2 separate regions of the Homo sapiens genome follow, and region 2 is linked to region 1. Evidence: promoter capture Hi-C in 16 types of primary human blood cells and fetal thymus (Javierre and others, 2016). All regions are on one chromosome and are shown on one strand. Each heading gives the region's core, a stretch centred on a gene start or on the middle of the fragment in contact. The rest is flanking DNA. Distances are from core to core; before and after follow the strand shown.

The links. The method cuts DNA at HindIII sites, captures the fragments that hold promoters and counts their contacts. A CHiCAGO score of 5 or more calls a contact.
Region 2: a contact is called between a fragment that was not itself captured here and the fragment with the promoter of FBXO33 in region 1, in 1 of 17 cell types (total B cells). The highest score is 7.2, in total B cells.

What each region holds. Positions count from the first base shown.
Region 1 is chr14:39,429,188-39,436,806 of GRCh38, forward strand. It overlaps FBXO33 (F-box protein 33), which reads right to left and starts at 3,246. Exons shown (of 4, transcript NM_203301.4): 1 at 2,377-3,246. The coding sequence starts at 2,975. It overlaps LOC105370461 (a long non-coding RNA gene), which reads left to right and starts at 3,252. Exons shown (of 8, transcript XR_007064121.1): 1 at 3,252-3,332. RefSeq lists silencers at 2,235-2,364, 2,805-2,934, 3,675-3,844 and an enhancer at 3,035-3,284. The HindIII fragment of the contact is 7,836 bases long and covers 1-7,213 here.
Region 2 is chr14:35,047,996-35,053,119 of GRCh38, forward strand. All of the region lies in intron 1 of FAM177A1 (family with sequence similarity 177 member A1), which reads left to right. Among named protein-coding and RNA genes, the nearest start is that of FAM177A1, 4.3 kb to the left of the region's middle. The HindIII fragment of the contact is 2,565 bases long and covers 1-2,533 here.

The DNA of each region.
Region 1 (7,619 bases), core at 1,996-4,495:
TGAAAATAACTGGAACAAAACAAAATAACAGTCTGAATTGTATGAACTGTATAAAGGAATTCAGCACAAAGCCTGGAAGCAGAATGCTTATGATCTGGTATGATTCACACCCCCTCTTTTCTACTTATAGAATGGCAGAAATCATAAAGCAAAACCATTGTAAATTTAACTTGGAAATGTAAAGAGCAATGTCAAATGTCCCAAGTCTATAGTTTAAGTGATTATAGAAAGAAATAATAGGCTTTACTAGTCACTGATAAACAATGTGGTTTAAAACATTTTCAGATTTGTTAAAATTTAAAGGAAACTAGTCTTATTTATGGATTTAATATTCATATTAACTTTTCCAATATCACAGAGTATCTCAAAACACTTTCAACAGTAAAGATGAGATTAACTTATTTCCAAAAACCCTTTGATGTATCATTAGTACAAACAACATGCAATTACACTACATTTTGAGACAAACAGAATGAATATGCTACCAAAGCAGCATGACATACAACACCATGCTAATAGTAGATGACAAGCAAACCTTAAAATTAGGGATGACGGGTGTGATGTTTTTGCATAGAAGTGATAGCTGACCCAGAAGGGCAGGCATCGGTGGCCTTATAGAGAAGCAGATTGGGATGCTAATAAAAATTGTAGGGGTAAGGAAGAGAAGGACAGGAGAATTAAGCTACAAAGCAAAGATGTGAAATATCTCCATTTTGCCTGTATGTTATCCACCCATCCAACCAACCAGTTATTAAAATACTTAAAAGGAACTAGACACTTATCAAGTCTTGTTCTTACTTGGGTCAAAGGCACATACAGTGTTTGCATGGTTGCATAAAAGTGCAATTTGATCTCAGTACAGAAAAATCTAATTGGTACTCACTCATTGAATTCACCCTCAACCTTGGTCTCATTAGTAAGTGCTCACTGACTGAAACTTTGCAACTTTTGGGTCAGTTGGTCCTCTAGCCATACATTCAACTCTGAGAAAGTCTCTAACCTAATCTGTTTTTAGCTTCAATGGCCTCTCCTGCCAGATAAAACCAAAGTAAGGAAATAGAATGTCTTGCGAAAAGCTGTGGAAACGCACAGGCAACTGGAATAATGGAGCCATATCCCAGATACAACTTGGAGCTATAACTTATCTCTTGACTTCTAAATTAAGACACAGATTAATGGCGCATACATATATATATATAACCTTATATCTATATATATCTCCTAGCATTAAACCAGGGACTGCTCTCAACCTTGTTCAACATAATGTTCAGTATATTTACTGCAAAAGGACACGCTTTCGGAGAAAAACAATGCCGTACAGCAATGTGCAAATCACTTGATCCTATAAAGGGTCAGTTTCCTTTCTGTAAAACAGGGTTATTTATCATTACCCTGCCTCATAGTGCCACTGAGAGGCTCAAACAACACAGTGAATGTGAAACTGCTGAAGTATTTTTACTATGTAAGGTGCTCCTTTTGTGAACGTCTAAACTTTCTTCTAATAAGAGCTTTACTGTAAGGTTCTTTAGAATATCCATATAAAGAAGATCTAAATTAATAGGGTTTTGGAGGTGGCGATGGAGAAAAATGATGATTGGGAGGGATACTGGGTCAGAATATAAGGCGTTAGTTCTGGAATTACAGTGAAGTCCTGATGCAAAACCAGAACAGTTATGTGCTTACCCTCTGCAGACCCTGGCCAACTCCCTCGCTGCCCGCCCGCCTCCTCCGCCCGACTGTTACTTTTAGGTGAACTACTGGGGAGAAGTTGAGTGTGGTGGTGTATGGGGAGGGACTTTCAACCCTGAAGATCAACTTCTTCCCCAATCCCTTTAACAAACACTCCTCCTCCTCTTCGGGCCTTGTTCAGTTAGCCGAAACTATTTCTGGTAAGAAAATGGCTGTTACAAAATTTCTTTTAGGCAGCGTCCTATGAGTACCTACTCCTTCCCTCACCATGAACTATTTCTAACAGATTCAGAGTCAGAAAATCGTGTTATGTGTATGTTTTGTTTCTTCCAAGGCTCACCCACAGGCCTCACCCTCCCAGTCTTAACGCTCCCATATATAAAATGAAAAGTGACAGCGCCTGTCAGCTCCATCCCACGGCCACCAAGAGGATGAATGAGTGCCTGGAAGGCGCCAGAAGTGGTGTCTGTTAAACACCCCGTCCACCACTGTTTATAAAGTATCGTGATGAGTCCCGTTATGCCTTTCCGCTCAAGGAAACCGCCTAGTTAGAACCAACACTCTCCGTCACTGAGGAAGGCAACACTGAAGTTGGCCGGGCACGTATTATGCACAGAATCTGTGTCGGGGTGCGGGGACGGAGCGACCCCCCGTTACCGGGCGGGGCGGGGCTCAGGGCAAGCCTACCTGTTGTTCCGGATGCTGACCAGCACGCAAAGCACCAGCTCCAAGTAGGTGCGCAGCACTTCCAGCCAACGAGCTGAGAGCTGCAGGGCCTCGACTTCCTCCCCTCCAGTCCCGGTGTCCGCGCCACCTCCGTCCCCTGGGCCACCGCCGCTCAGATAGTTCTCGGCGGCGAATTCAACACGCAGCTCTCGCACGAACCAGCCGCACTTGCGCATGAGGAATTCCAGCCGAGGCTGCTCCGCGGGCGAGACGCGGAGGCAGATGCGGAGCTGGGGCCACAGGGCCGGATAGAAGAGGCACTCACGCCAGTGCGAGCAGGAGGCCGAGGCCCGCAGCCGGTCGGGCGCCGGCAGAAAAGAGAAGATGTGCACGATCAGCTCGCTGGGCAGCGACGCAGCGCCCGCCGCCTGCCCGCACAGAGCCATCCGGCCCCGCCGCCGGCTGCCGGCTCCCGGCCGCCCCCGCAGTACCCGGAGCAGCCCCCGCAGCCGTCGCAGCTGCTGCAGCCGCAGCCGCCGCCACCGCGCCACCCGGGCGGCCCCGGCTCGGGTTCGAGCTCCCGGCGGTCGGGGCTGCGGCACTGACAAGAACAACAACATCAATGACTAGGAAGAAGGGGGCGGAACCGTCGTGGGTCTCGGCGGAACCAAGTAGAACACAAGTTGTGGAGAGGGGGAAAGGCCTCTGCGGGCGTGGCCTGCCGGGAGCCAGCCTCTGTCTTCTCAAACTCTACTCACGTGCGTCCGAGGCCGGCACACTGAGTAACTGCACTGCCCTCGCTCGTAAACTTCAGCGGCCCGGAAGCCTCAAGGCGTACTGTAAGGAAAAGGCAGCCCTCCCTGCGCCGGTCGGCAGAGACAGAGAAGTGGTAGGAGCTGAGTTTGACGTCGCCGCTGGTGGGAGGAGTCCGGCGCGCACCGGCGCGACTTCCGGAAGAGGGGAGCGCCCGATTGCCTGTAGGGACGGGAGGCGCGGCACGTGATCTCTGACGCACGCAGGCCGCGGGGCGGGGCGGGGCTGGGCGGGGCGGGGCGGGGCGGGGCTGGGCGGGACTGGAACCGGCACTTGGCACCCCTTACGCCTTACGGTGGCCGCTGCGCCCAGTCACATCTGTAAGTCGGTTAATTTTGGCGCTCGGTCGATGGAGGTGGCGGTACTCTGGTTTAGTGCGAAAGGTCGTCACGCTTCTTTGTAAAACGTTTCTCAGTTTGGGCTGAGGACCCTGAGCCAAAGTGGCGGCATGCAGGGTCTTTCTCAGCCATCCCACCTGCCCAGAGTAGGGTTAAGAATTCCTGAGATTGCGCCGCTGAGAGGGAGCTGGCGGACGGGCGGGCTAACCCCGGCGGGCTGTGCCGGGAGGGGCGGTGTGGGGCGTGGCGGAGGCCGCGAATGGACCTGCCCCCTCGGTCCAACCACGCAGGTGGACTTCCGCGCACTCGCTGGTGTGTGGGGAAGCAGTGAGGACAGCGTCACCCTTTGGATTCAGAGGGAGAGAAAAAAATTGGCAAAGGGATCTGAGATCCGCAGGTTGTGACCAGCCTCTTCTCCAGGGCTTGAGGAAGGGTCTCTTTTCCCTGTGCTGAGATTTAAGGCTCTCGTTGAAAAGTTCACAGTAATGACAGAGCTTTGATTTTTTTTCTTTCTTCTTCTTCTTTTTTTGCCTGGTATCCCTAACTTAGATTTTCCAAACCATGTCCCTAACTTCACCACAGCCTACTGCAAAGTAAACTCTGGTTGCAAAGAGTGGTGAAGTCAGAAAAGATTAAGTGACTTTATGTAATAATCGAGGGTTGCTTTAGGGAGGCTGCCTCTTTATGTAATAATTGAGAGTTGCTTTAGGGAGGCTGTGATGTTGGAATAGCATCGTTCTTTTGTGGTAAACACCAAGACTTTTTGGACTTTTTTTTTTTTTTTTGGTTTTAAGGAGCGGAGAATTTAATAGGCAAGAAAGAAGGAAGAAGGCTGAAGGAAGAAGCTCCCCACTACAGAGACAGACGGAGGGGGCTCCCAAGACGAAAGAGGAGACCCCCATTCTAGATGTTCTTAACCCTTTGAGGGCAAAGCTCTCCGTTTAATGCCTTGCACATATCAGGTTGCCAACAACATGGTGTGGTTTATCAATTGTGATAGGTTACTTATTCGAGCCCCTGTTTACAAGAGTTTTAGGTAATTATACCTTATTAATTTTAATGAACTCTTAGAGGGCGACCCCAGTCGTGGGTTCGGCAGGATGAAACACTACCCATTTACCAGTTTACAGACATTTAGGTCGTTTCGAGTTATGAATAATGCTGTGAACATTCATGTGCAAGTCTTTATGTGGACGTATGTTTTAATTTGTCTTGGGTAGATACCTAGGAATGAAAGTGATGGGTCGTAGGGTAGTTCTATGTATAACTTTTTGAGAAACGGAAACTTTTTCCAAAGTGGCTGCATCATTTTTCATTCCCACCAGCCATGTATGAGGGTTTCCAGTTCTCTGACTTTTTTTTTTTTAATATTCTAGAAATGCACTGTAATTTGAGATTGATATTTTTTTCTTAGCATTTTGCTAGCAACAAGCTACCATCTTGGAGATCATTAATAATTAGTCTTTAATTATTAGGAATGGTTCCTGAGTAAAATGAAAATATGTCAGTCTGCCATAAATGAAATTCATTATTTTAGAATTTCAAACTTTCTTCTTAAATGAAGTGTGGTAGGAATCCTATTTTAACAACTGTAAGCTAAAGAATTAGCTGTGAATCTTGCCCAGTTTCAATAATAAATCAGTGAATTCCAATGGTTGCACAAAATTTATCTTATCAGGCCAATATATTTACTATTAATTAAATGTATATTGAGTATGTATATTTAGCATGTTAAGTGAGTTAGATTCTTTTGACATATATTCTATACTGCTAAAATAAAATTGACTCATATAGGACAGAATGGAATTACATTTTGTGAAGTTATAAAATCTGAGCTATGATTCAGAGTGTGGGAGGAAGTACTGACGTTATGAAGCTCATAAGTACCTAGTAGTACTAAGCTCCAGGTTCCAAAAGTGGCATATTGTCACTATAGCAACCACCATGCTTATTTGGATTTGAAACCCAGGCAACGAATGGTGGATAGGACTATAATATTAAGGTAGGTATCTGCTCTGGTGGATTGATATGCCTGCCTGTTGATAGTCAATGGTCTGTTCTGTTTTTCTTGTTATACTCATGGTTAATTCTTTTAGAGATAAATTAAGCACTTAATATTTTTATATTTCTCCTTTTCTAACATGCTAAGTTTAGTGTTTTTCCTAGTTAGGTAATTGGGGTATTAAATATATCTTACTATAGCTTTCTTTCCATTTTTGCTTAAGTTTGGCAACTTTCTTTGGGTTAAATATAACTTTTATTATACTGAATCACTTGCAATTTTATAATAGAAAAAAGTAACCATGACAGATTTTATTTTAGCTGCATCATGAAACGATGTTCAAGGCTACCAGTAAACATGAAAATTGCCTAAATTCTAATATTTCTTGAAAAAATACAGTTTTCTGAGTGATGTCTGGGTTTCAGACATTGTTGACAGGTAGAGGTGACATAATACCCTTCCAATTATCTCTTAGCATGCACCCATAAATTTACCTAGAGGCACAGGAACCTCCTGCGACAGTAGATCTGGGTACCTCATTCCCGTCACCCTTGTCTGGTGGATTGAAGTGTTTCCTAGTGGAATCATATTACAGTAAAAAGAAATGAGGGATTGAAGGGAATTCATCTTTAGAGGAGGAAGTCTGCGTTGGTGAGCTACATGACAGAGGACCGCGTCATTGGTTTGTCAGTCTAGGTGTAGCATGTCGCTGATATCACAACTTTTTCTAACCAAGCCACTCATGAGTTGATTGTGCAAGACCTCTCTCCATAAAGCAGGGATTGATAGTTCATATATCAAAGGAATCAGATACGTGTAGTGAGAGAAGAATTGGGTACTGTGCAATATAGGGAGATGGAAAGATTTTGTCTTACAGGAGGATGCTTTTCGCAAGTGGGAAAGTGGGCTCTGTGTTTCCAGATTTCCTAGTTTTTCAAAAGTAACTAAAATCCTCATTTTTAAAAAGGTTAAACCTTCAGATTGCCAATTTATTTACATTAAAAATATTCTGTGGGCATAACAAAACCAGATTTAGTCTTCAGGGCACCAGATTTCAAATTCTTTACCAAAGTTCTCAAAACTGTGGGCCAAGGCCATATTTTGTCTCTGTAGCTAGGCCTACTAGCTAATCCCCGCATTTTAAGTCCACTTCCAGAGCTATTTTTTTCCCTATCTATCCCATTTAGTTAAAAAATGAATTCAAAAGGTTTAACTTGAATGCCTGTTTTATTGCATTACTGATTTCTTCCCTTTTATTTAAGAGGATGGGTGTTTTCAGAGGTACCCTTTATTGCTTAAGTACATATTAAAAACTAAGTGTTATGTTTAACACAGCTGGTTCAACCAATAAAATTCCTTGACTTCTAGTTAAAATCAGTAATTGACTAATGATCCTCGTTGGAGTTGTGCAGCTTAGATTATAGGCAGGATCCCCCAACGGGGCTCACGGGACTGTTACTTAAGAGGCACAGTCTCCAAAGTAGTCATTTTAATTGGGTTCCTTTGGTTGTTTAACCTAACTAGCTTAAGCACTGAGAGGATTTTCTTTTCTCCTTCCCTCTGGCCCTCTTCCTCCTCTTCCTGGAGTTTTGAGGACATCCACAGGTATCCTTTGATGTGTAGGGACCGGAATGGAAAACTAAAAGCAGGAGCTAAGGTTACTCTCTTCATCTCTGAGTACCACAGTTTCTTGGAATCTTCATCAAGCTTTTCCAGGTCATACTGGCTGAGTAATCTTAAGACTTTGTCATGAAGAAATATATTATTCATGGCTAATTACTGCAATATTCTCATTGCAGAATTTAATATTTAATCCTTTGGAAAATCTTTTTAGCCCATTAGGTGCTGAAAAGGAGAAATGAAGTGAATATTTTCATATAGTAGCATTAATTGGAATGTTGTCTTGCTCTAGGCCAAAGGGGTTTCACTTGATGTGCCAATTTTAATTAGTTTTGCAGGCTGAGAAGTACTATGTTAAGAAAGATTTTGAGGTTGTCCTCATTCTACTGGAAGGAGTATCATTTGATTTGTGATGTCTGCCATAGTTGGAAAGAATTGGTGACCTGTTTAGGTAATTATTGTCTAATGTGACTATATATTAGTGTTTGTTT
Region 2 (5,124 bases), core at 1-2,500, 4.4 Mb before region 1:
CCATCTCTTAAATAAAAAACTAAAGAAACCCCAAAAACAAAAAACACAACTTTCCCACATACCAAACTCTATATGGAATACGTTTTTTCCCTCCTACTTAAGAAGGGGATTCAGGGGACAACATGAATTGATAAGGAAGCCACGTCATTTTCAGTTGAGTTGAGACCTATTGTTGGCAAGTGCACTTACACTTAACCTTTGAGTCCATGGTGCTTGATATGTTTTTCAATTTGATTTTTCCTGTTGTTACTAGAATTGTTTTTTTAAAATCACTACCTCCGCCCTGGATCTAATAGCAAAGTAAACACACGTGTACTTATATACCAGCTAAATGTTGTTTGAAGTGAGAGGCTCTTTGATTGGGGTTAGTGATATTCTGTTGTTTTCACATTCTTGGTTAACAAATAAGTACTTAACCAGTAAAGAAGGCTGTAGAACAAAAGATAAAAATTCACAGGAATACCCCACCACCACCCTTTCTTCATGTTCTCATTCCCCAAAGGTAACTATTAAGTTTTGGTGTAGTCTCTCTGGAATTTTATCATTCAATATTATATATTTCTTATATATTATATATATTATTAAATATTAAATATCTCTTCTTTCTTGTTAAACACCAATGAGTTCCATTTTCTGATTTGCCCTTTGTGCTTTCAGATTCACATTCCTGAATCAGAAACATCTTTGGGAACTCCAGTTCTATGCCCAGGGGGTTGAGCACAGTAACAGGGAAGTGGACATCTCAGGAGATGGAGAGGCCTCTATCTTACACTTCTTCCCAAGTTTGGCAGAACTGAGAAATCCCTAGTGCAATGTAGGGAAAGGGAGTAAGAGATAGGAGATAGGGTCTAGAATTAGGCCTCCAAACAGGCCATCCAGTACCTGTTGTGACATTCTTTTTTTTTTTTTTTTTAAGACGGAGTCTCACTCTGTGGCCCAGGCTGGAGTGCAGTGGCATGATCTTGGCTCACTGCAACCTCCACCTCCCGGGTTCACGCAATTCTCTTGCCTCAGCCTCCTGAGTAGCTAGGACTACAGGCGCACGCAACCACATCTGGCTAATTTTTGTATTTTTAGTAGAGGTGGGGTTTCACCATCTTGGTCAGGCTGGTCTTGAAGTCCTGACCTTGTGATCCACCTGCTGCCTTGGCCTCCCAAAGTGCTGGGATTACAGGTGTGAGCCACCGCACCCGGCCTCCTGTTGTGACATTCTATCCAGCAGCTTCTCTGAATAGACTTTTAACCAGAATCTCAGCCTCAATGTTTTTAAAGGAGTTAAAATTTCAGTACCACTCAGTGATTGATTTATTTGGTACCTCTGTTACCAAGCACTTACTATGTGCCAGGAACTCTAGGCTGAAAGATATAGCAGTACCTACCCCCATGTTGCTAATAGCCTAGTTGGGGAAGATGACAAAGAATAAATTCTAAGTCTAGTATGTGTTTTAAAGAAGTCTGGGTGCCATGGGAGTATATACAAAAAATTGCCATTAAAACCAGATCCTGAGCTGGGCAGAGTGGCTCACACCTATAATCCCAGCACTTTGGAAGGCTGAGGCCAGTGGATCACTTGAGGTCAGGAGTTCGAGACCAGCCTGGCCAACGTGATGAAACCCTCATCTCTACTAAAAATAGAAAAATTAGCTGGGCATTATGGCTCACGCCTGTAGTCCCAGCTACTCGGGAGGCTGAGGCAGGAGAATCGCTGAAACCCAGGAGGTAGAGGTTGCAGTGAGCCAAGATCGCACCACTGCATTCCAGCCTGGATGACAGAGCAAGACTCCTTTTCAAAAAAGAAAAAAACAGATCCTGAGAATAAAGATAAGCACATTTATAGTTTGGTTAACTATAAAATGGAGTAAAATGTTAATTGACATGGTACCTCATAATTTCCTGGTGTTATGAAACTATCTTTCAGATCTTTGGGGTTCGTTATGGAATTTGCATAATTGGCAGTGAAATTTTTCTTACTTGCAGATTTATAAAATGAAGCATTTGGAAAATTCACAGTGTAACTTTTTTTGTTTTTTGAGACAGAATCTCACTCTGTTGCCCAGGCTGAAGTTCATGGCGCGATCTCGGCTCGCTGCAACCTCCACCTCCCGGGTTCAAGCAATTCTCCTGCCTCAGCCTCCTGTGTAGCTGGGATTATAGGCACGCTCCACCGCGCCTGGCTAATTTTTGTATTTTTTTAGTAGAGGTGGGATTTCACCATGTTAGCCAGGGTGGTCTCACACCCTTGACCTCAAGTTGTCTGCCCGCCTCAGTCTCCCAAAGTGCTGGGGTTACAAGCATGAGCCACCATGCCCAGCCACAGTGTAAATTTTATTTGTAATTATTGGATTTCTGGTTCAAGTTGATGTTTGAAAAATAAAAAAAGAAAAATATTTTAAAAATATAATTATTGGGAATTTTGTATCAAATGATTTTCTGGTTGGTTTTACCTGTTAGTGCTTCCTTCATTGCCCCCCACCCCGCCTCCCAAATAGAGGTTGGAATCATTATCCCTCATCTGAAATACTCTAAAATCTGAAGCTTTTTGAGCACTGACATTCCTTCCTTTGCCTGTGTCATAGAAGGAAAAAATTAAGCCAATGAGAGATTGCTAGAGGTAGCAGTGAGAAGCCTCTACTGTCTTGGGGGTGGGATAGGGTGGGGCATGGTGGTATACTGTGAAGGATCTGAGCTCTCTATTCACTGACTGGAGCTGTTGCATTGACATTAGATCCATCCAGTTAGTAGGATGACTGGAGATCTAACTTAGCTCATCTGTCTTTCCTTTGCATAGGAAATTAAGGGATCCAAAAAGCTGAGTCATGGTCCAAAAGGAAACGTTGATGTCAGGACAGCCATAGCCAAATTTTATCTCAAGGGTAAACATGAGACTGGGTAGGGATGGCTGTCAGTGCCTGGGGATTGGTGGGGCTTGGGGGTAGGTAGAAGAAAAGTGTCCTGGGTTAACTACTTGTTTATTTTTTTCATGGACACAATAAATGACCTGATCTTTCCTTGTTAAGGGCTGGGATTTATTTGAACCCTCAGGACAGGCTAGAAAGAATTGTGACTTTTTTTCATGTTAATACATAGGTAGCCTATGTTACCAAATTTTATTTTTTAAGATAGTTTATTATTTTTATTTTTTGAGATGGAGTCTCGCTGTGTGACCCAGACTGGAGTGCAGTGGCACGATCTCAGCTCACTGCAACCGCCACCTCCCGGGTTTAAGTGATTCTCATTCCTCAGCTTCCCGAGTAGCTGGGACTACAGGTGCGTGCCACCACGCCCAGCTAATTTTTGTTTTTTTAGTGGAGACAGGGTTTCACCATGTTGGCCGGGCTGGTCTCCAACTCCTGACATCAGGTTATCTTGCCTTGGCCCCCCAAATTGCTGCCATTATAGGCCTGAGCCACAGCACCCAGCCTTATTTTTATTTTTTTGAGACAGTCTGGCTCTGTTGCCCAGGCTTGAGTGCAGTGGTGCGATCTCGGCTCACTGCAACATCCACCTCCTGGGTTCAAGTGATTCTCATGCCTCAGCCTCCCAAGTAGCTGAAATTACATACGTGTACCACCATGCCTAGCTGATTTTTGTATTTTTAGTAAAGTTGGGGTTTTGCCATGTTGGCCAGCCTGGTCTCGAACTCCTCACCTCATGTGATCCTCCTGCCTCAGCCTCCCAAAGTGCTAGGATTACAGGTATGAGCCACCACGGCTGGCCTGTTACCAAATTTTCATGATCTGCAGTTCAAATCCTGGCTAATGACTAAACTTACCTTTGGGAGGTAAAAGGCAGAGAAGAATCATATCTGTTTTCTAAGAAGGACCTTAGAAGATTAAGATGAAACAATGTATAAAAACAAAGTAGCTTATACTTGCATAACTGGGCAGTTCACTGTTTTTATCAGTATAATCCTTTTTTTGCAATAGCAATTCAAAGAGCTTTTCCAGTGGTTGAACAGCAGTCATGGGTTTAAATTATGTTTGCTTATAACCACAAGAATCTTTATAGAGAACAAAATGTTTGTACTCTGGACTATCCTAGAGAATTCTACGAACATAGACTGTAATCATGACATTACTGTAGTCCTGTATATGCAAAAAGAATAAAAGCCCTCCTTTGACTACTCCCTTGCCTTCTGCTTCTCCCCCATCTTAGTTTCTACCCATGGGGTAACCACTGTTGCCAGATTTTTCTTCACAATTGTATGTACTGTACCTTTTTGAAATCTGGAAGTTTAAACTTCAGGCAGTTTTCTTTTTTTTTTTCCGAGATGGAGTCTTGCTCTGTTGCCCAGACTGGAGTGCAGTGGCGCGCCTTCCAGGTTCATGCCATTCTTCTGCCTCAGCCTCCCGAGTAGTTGGGACTACAGGCACCCGCTGCTGCGCCCAGCTAATTTTTTATATTTTTAGTAGAGACAGGGTTTCACCGTGGTCTCGATCTCCTGACCTTGTGATCCGCCTGCCTCGGCCTCCCAAAATGCTGGGATTACAGGTATGAGCCCGCGCCTGGCCCAACTTCAGGCAGTTTTATTAGGAGTTTAAACTTGAGGCAAGAGGACAATGAAAAGAAGCTCTTCACCATCTCCCACTATATATATAGATATATATAGTGTAAATATATAGGAGTAAAATTTGTATTAGAATTCCAGCTCAGGCACAGTGACGTATGCCTGTAATCCTAAAACTTTGGGAGGCTGAAGTGGGAGGATTGCTTAAGGCCAGTAGTTGGAGACCAACCTGGGCAACATAGCCAGACACTGTCCCTATAGAAAAAAAAATTAGCCAAGTGTGGTGGCATGCTCCTATAGTCCCAGGTACTCAGGAGGTGGACACAGAAGGATCACTTGAGGCCAGGAATTTGAGATTGCAGTGAGCCGTGATTGCACTACTGCTCTCCAGCCTAGGCAACAGCCAGACCCTGTCTGGGGGAAAAAAAAATTCCATAGACTACTAAAGTTTAAGAACTTGTGAAATCTTTTTACTATCAGAAATCTCTTTTGTTACATATGTATTACTGGCCAAGACATCTGGAAGTTCAGAGATACAATGCTGATAATCTGCTTTCCAGATTTGGTTTACAAATGGTGGGTTTTATTTGGTCTGCCATAGTCTTGACACTGTACTC